Regions from separate parts of the Homo sapiens genome. Here region 1 is linked to region 2. The links are contacts of gene promoters, found by promoter capture Hi-C in human tissues and cell types (Jung and others, 2019). All regions are on one chromosome and are shown on one strand. The core of a region is centred on a gene start or on the middle of the fragment in contact, and the rest is flanking DNA. Distances in the headings are between cores, read along the strand shown.

Region 1 (3,220 bases), core at 3-2,502, 72 kb after region 2:
CAGTCCAGATATTTCATCTTTACTTGAGCTGCTGAGTCTGTGCTGCACGTGCATGATTTAGGTCAAAGATGTGAGTGAATCCAGTTTGGGGATCTCCTCTCTGGTTCATTTGTTTCCAGAACTTCCCCAGCTCTCTTCAGTATTTGGGATTTCTTGACTTTGCTTTTCTTGTTTCCTGAGTTAGAGAGGCTATGAATTTTTCCACATGGGCACTGTGTAGGCTACACTTGGTGCCAAGGAAAAAGCTACCAAGATGGGCGCTTACTTAGTATCGCTCCCCATCTCCCCTCCTCCAAGTGATTCTTCATTCCCTACCAGGATCAATCTGCTTCTGTTCATTCTACAGCACCTTCAGGGATTTTTGCTTTTCTTTAATTATGTCTACATTTAATTTTCCTGTAGGGGTGTCATCTGGTAGAGTTTTTGCTCGATCATACCCAGAATTTCTTTTTTTATCCGTTTATAATATACCCGCATTTCTTCACCCTACGCTATGGATAGCATACTTAAAGTGCAAAAATCTTCAGAGAGCAACACAGTCTGCAGTCACCACTCAGATCAAGGTACAGAACATTTCCAACACCCAGAAGTTTCTTTCGTGACACTCTTTAGTCAACAGCAACACCACTCTCCCAAGAAGTTCCCATATTCTGTATTCTACCTTTATAGACCAACTTCACCTATTCTTGAACTTGACATATTTTGTTCCCTGGTTTATTTTGATAATTATGTCTGTGAGATAGATGGGTCTGTGTTGTTATATGCAGCAGTACTTTGAAGGTTTTTTCTGTGTATTTTACCATTGTATTAATATACAGTTTGTTTCTCCATTTCATTTTATGACAATAATTATTTCTTAAAATAATGTCGGATGATGCAGCTCTGATGGTAATAGAAAACATTATACATGACTTACATACTACACAGATAGATACTGAATATGTGTGTCACTTCAAAAGTTTCTGGGTAGGTTTATAAAATAGCAAAGGTCATCAACACATCTCTAAATTCATGTTAATGTTTATTAAAGTTAATTACATTATTGTTAGTTAAATTCTTGTTTAACATACATTTATGTTTTAAGTAGTCAAAATCACAATAAAGATCTATTTTTCATGGGCCGTATAACTTTGCTTTATTGCCTATTGACTTTCCCTAGATAATCAATTCAGAAAGTAGCTCATGCCCCATTTTATAAAATTAGAGACCTTGATGAAACATAATTACATGTTTTAACATATAGTGTATTTTTGCTTTGATAACATATTGCTGATCATATCTTTCATTTATTTTACTTTTTTTTTTTTTTTTTTTTTGAGACAGAGTCTCACTGTGTCACCTAGGCTGGAGTGCAGTGGTGCCATCTCGGCTCATTACAACCTCCGCCTCCGGGGTTCAAGTGATTCTCCTACCTCAGCTTCCCGAGTAGCTGGGACTACAGGTGTGCATCACCACGCCCAGCTGATTTTTGTATTTTTAGTAGAGATGGCATTTCACCATGTTGGCCAGGATGGTCTCGATCTCTTGACCTCGTGATCCGCCCGCCTTGGCCTCCCAAAGTGCTGGGATTACAAGTGTGAGCCACCGTGCCTGGCCTATTTTACTTTAAATTCTACTCAGAAACCATGTCCCATTATGTTACTATTACATTGTTTCTAAGAAAATATGTTCTCAGATTTATAATATAGTAGGAACATATTACTATGAGTCATGAATAATAAGCAGGTTAACAGCAGAGGGTGAAGGAGGGCATTGCAGGCATAGGAACAAAAAAAAAAAAAAAAGCAAAAACAAAAATTGGAAATGGAAGCCCAGTAAAGCCCTGCATATTTGGGCAAAGGTGCATGACACTACGGGCTACAATGCTGAATGGGTGGAAGGGTAAGAAGGCGGTAGTTGAGGTTGTTAAAGATGATGACCATTTATCCTATTCTCTGCACCCTCACTGGAAGACAAATTGAGAAATAAGACACAGGATAATCACAGAAGCAGATAAAAATGTCAGCTTTTTTTTTTTTTTTTTTTTTTTTTGAGATAGAGTCTCACTCTGTCACCCAGCTTGGAGTGCAATGGCACAATCTGGGCTCACTGCAACTTCTGCCTCCCAGGTTCAAGCGATTCTCCTGCCTCAGCCTCCCAAGTAGCTGGGATTACAGGTGCTTACCACCACGCCCGGCTAATGTTTGTATTTTTAGTAGAGATGGGGTTTCACCATGCTGGCTAGGCTGGTCTGGAACTCCTGACTTTAGGCAGTCTGCCCTCCTCAGGCTCCCAAAGTGCTGGGATTACAGGCGTGAGCCACCACGCCCGGCCCAAAATTTCAGCTTTAATACTGATAAAGTTAACTGGAGGACACAGCTTAAATCTACAACCACACTGGGATTTTCTGATTCCCTCATTGCTTTTGCCAGACAAGCCTAATGAACCCAGGCACAAGGAGAAACAAACAATATCAGGCCTCCCCTACCAAGGGGGATGGGGTACATCAAAGAGGCTACAAATGCTGGTCCAGAGGACAGGCCAGTCCTAAAAAGAGAACCCTGTGGAGACCAGGCCATTCAACTCCAGTTCAGTTACCCAGCTTCAGCAGGGAAAAGCGGAAATATGGATAAAATAAAAGGATTCCTCTCATTCTTTACTCTGCTAGGGCATGAAAAATAGGTGCCCATTTAAAAGGAATCATCTGCTTTCGGCCAGAAATAATTGGCCCATTTAGAAAGAAGGGAAATCTTTTGCCAAAACCAGGTTTCCTCTTGTGAAAAACACGTAATTGCTTATCTCATATAAGTACATAGTTGCGTGTTAAATTATTGCTTCCGACGCCCCATAAATATAGCTAAGAACTATTTCACTGCTGATACATTTATTTTTCAAATTATCTTGAAAAAGTAACTAGAAAATGTAAAGAAGGCAACCTCTCTAAAACTATTTCCACTTCAGCCCAGACGTTTCCCTACACTGGTTGGTGACCTGACCTACTTCTGGGGAACGAGATTATCCTATGCAATCTTTGGACAAATAACCAAAATGTGAGCTGTTTTAGAAGCCTGCTTTCCCACACCATATGTAACTTCAAGAAGAAAAAGGGTAGACGTTGTTCTGCAACAATTCACCAGCGCTTCCCACTTGCAATAACATTCTTGAATTCAGAGTAGTAACAGGGCACTCCATTCTGCCATTATTTGTGTGAGTAAAGAGGGACAGAGAGATGGCCAGAAGA
Region 2 (3,365 bases), core at 751-3,250:
GAATGTCTCCTGGCCACGAGCTGGAGCACTGAACTCTTCAATGTAGAACAGCAGAACCTTTAGCAGAGTAATACAGAGTGGTCTTTGGCACTCAAAATCCAGATCCCTTCCAGACTCCCTGAGAGTGGGACGTGTAATATGACTCCTCTTTCTTTCCGATTCTATATTGATTAACTGTAATACACATACAGACACACACACACACACACACACACACATATAAACATGCACACACGTTGTCAGAACTGTAAAATCTAAATCCACTTTAAAGAATAAGCAATCTTCCTAAAATCCAGTAGTGTGCTTAGTATCTCCAGAGCAAGGCAGAGGCCACATTTTACAGATCATGCAAATCCGTGGAGTTCTTCCTTGTTTCTTCTTCCAGCCTGAGTCTCCGGAGCCTAAGAAATTGGCCCAATTACACAGGATCACTTACCCCTGATTACCATTCCAAGGCCCAGAAGCTTTAGAACTTTGAAATAAAAGATTTGGATTTGATTTATCCTTACAGAGCAGATCATAGAAAATTCTTGTGTGAGGGCTTCTTTTATGTACATACATGTATATGAAAAGGAGGGTTTATGATCTTCCTGACCAAGCAACCTCCTGAAGAGCTGGATATATAATCATATTAGCACTGGCACCAAGGTATCTACCATTGATCTTTAATAAGTCTGCTTATGTAACTAAAGAGAAAACACTCCTCAACCTTTATACCACCACCTGCCCCTTGTTCCAGCCAGAAACGTTCTTGCTCAGAAAAACCCATTTAGCCTACCAAGAAAAGAATGGAAGGCATGGAGCCTCATCTTACTCATCTCTTGGGCCTAATACAGAGTTCAGTAAACAAAAGGCATTTCATAGACACTAACTTGCAGGCAGTGAGCCAATTTAATTGTTGCAAAATAATATAGTCCTCAAGGAGAGTATAGGAAAGAGATTTCCAATTTTTAAAAGTGGAGAGGAGACCCTCTTTGAGGAAAAATATTAAAATTCCTCCGCCTATAAATAGAAAGACACTTGAGTATCATGCTTACCGAGAATCGGTTGCCAGTGATATGAAGAGACCCATTAGAAGAGCACTCTCTTCAGGGTTTTGCCCAGGGCAAGTTTATCATCCTTATTCCTCAAACTGTAGATCGAAGGGTTAAGCATGGGAACCACATTGGTGTAAAAGACTGAGGCAAATCTGCCATGGTTCATAGAGCCAGGAAAAGATGTTGTTAAGTAGGTGAATGTCCCTGACCCAAAAAACAGAGCAACAGCAATTATGTGGGAGCCCCATGTGCTAAAGGCTTTGGATCTGCCCTCTGCAGAAGGAATACAGAGGATGTTGGAGAGTATCAAAGCGTAAGAGATGACGATGCTTATGCTGGATAGCATGGTGATTACTCCAACAACAATGAAAAATACCAGCTCACTGACATGGGTGCTGGTGCAGGAGAGCTGCAAGAGGGGGAGAACGTCACACAGATAATGGTCAATGACGTTGGAATCACAGAAGGTCAGTCGCAGCATGCTTCCAGTGTGGGCCATGGCCCCAGCAAACCCTACCACATAGGAACCAAACATCAGCAGAAAGCAGACCCTTGGGGACATGGTGACCATGTAGAGCAGGGGGTTGCAGATGGCCACATAGCGATCATAGGCCATTGATACCAACACATAGCACTCAGAATTGACAAAGAAACAGAAGAAAAATAGCTGAGTCATACATCCCACATAAGAGATGATACTTTCTGAAACAAAGTCATTCAGCATTTTGGGGGTAAACACACAGGAATAACAGAGATCTATAAAGGACAAGTTGAAGAGGAAAAAGTACATGGGGGTGTGAAGGCTAGGATTTATCCCAATTAAGGTGATCAAGCCCAAGTTGCCCACCACAGTGAACACATAGATCCCTAAGAATAGAAGGAAAAGAGGGAGCTGGAGCTCTGGCTGTTCTGATAATCCCACAAGGATAAACTCAGTCACTGAGGAGCTGTTTCTCAGAGTCATTCTCTCTTGGCGAGCTGTCTGGGGAAGCAGAGGGCAAAACACAAAGAGTCATGACAGGCACAAGCATGGCTAAGGGAAGAAGACTCTAGTGGACCAGCCAGTGTGCAGATGCCCTCTCTTCCATCCTCCCTCATCTACACACCTCCCCACCCTGAGGTATTAACAACGTGTCTGTGAGAGGATCTCAGCTCTGCTGGGCCGATCATGAATTCAAGCTAGCATCTGTTACCATGGGCAGCAAGAATTCCGTCTCTGCTTGAGAGATGACGAGGGAGACAACACACCTGAATTGGCTGCCCAGGGACTCTCAGAAAGACACCCTGAGAACCAAGAGTACAACCTGGGCCGCTGCCTCAAGAGCTGAGAGACCAGAGCTCTCAAGGTCACCAGGATGCCCTCCCATTCTCTGCCTCCGTCTCCCAACTAGATAGTGGATTTCCATCTGGAGAGAAAGCCAAGAGTGTTACCTGCTGGCTCTTTACATCCCACCCGCCTCCTCGAAGACCCTCCATTCCATCTCACCTCAGGGTCAGTGTTGAGAGCAGAGACGGGATCCATACTTCCCAGAGCCCTTGGTTGTGGGTTTCAAAGAGACCATCAGGAAAGACAGGATTCGGACCTTCACCTTCCTTCTCCCGGGCCCCACTCAGTGCTGGGCCTTACGCCATCTCTTTTTCCATTAGCCAGAAAGAGAAAATGGTGCTGCTTGTGCAGAAAGCACACAGCCTTGCGTATTACCTCTTTTGACTCCCTTGGTGCTGAGAATCAGAGCTTTTACAGACCCCAGGCTCCAAGGTGCTCAAGGAATAGACCATGGTTTCTGTTTGTGGATTTTCCCAGGTGGTCTTGACAACTTCAGGAAAAAAAACTAGGAACTCTCATTTTGACCAGAACCCCAGCTGTCATATCACAGAGGAATTTAAGCTGCTTGACGATCTCAGGGACCTGATTAGACACAGTTTCCCCTGGGAATTTCTCCAAGATCTGTCTCTATAGGGAAGGAATTGCACTGTCTTTGTTTACAGCCTGGATAACGGTGCTTACCTAGCATCTTGGGAGTGGGGGTTCCACTCAAACTTTCCCTCTACTCCAGGGATTTCATGTTATTCAGTGCTGAGTTTGGGGACTCATTTTTTCCTTTCTCATTAACTCTCAGAGCCTAAGCTTGAATTTAAGAGTGAATAGCCCCAACCTAAGCCACCATCTCCAAATCTTCACAGGGAGCTATGAGAGTAGGACCCCTCAGAAAAGGTCAGATCAGATCTACAGAGAGCACCTCAGATAAAAGGCTTCTTGGACCATGCGCTGCTCAGAACAGAAACCACACCACCTCCACCACAAACACCACCTACTCGCAGCTCTAA

The links. The method cuts DNA at HindIII sites, captures the fragments that hold promoters and counts their contacts. A contact is called where the count stands out against the background at its distance.
Region 1: a contact is called between a fragment that was not itself captured here and the fragment with the promoter of OR8B4 in region 2, in 2 of the 25 tissues and cell types used here (adrenal gland and thymus).

What each region holds. Positions count from the first base shown.
Region 1 is chr11:124,495,351-124,498,570 of GRCh38, forward strand. No RefSeq gene overlaps it. Among named protein-coding and RNA genes, the nearest start is that of OR8B12, 47 kb to the right of the region's middle. The HindIII fragment of the contact is 7,572 bases long and covers 1-3,220 here.
Region 2 is chr11:124,422,871-124,426,235 of GRCh38, forward strand. It overlaps OR8B4 (olfactory receptor family 8 subfamily B member 4), which reads right to left and starts at 2,001. Exons shown (of 1, transcript NM_001005196.1): 1 at 1,072-2,001. The coding sequence starts at 2,001. The coding sequence ends at 1,072. The HindIII fragment of the contact is 10,487 bases long and covers 1-3,365 here.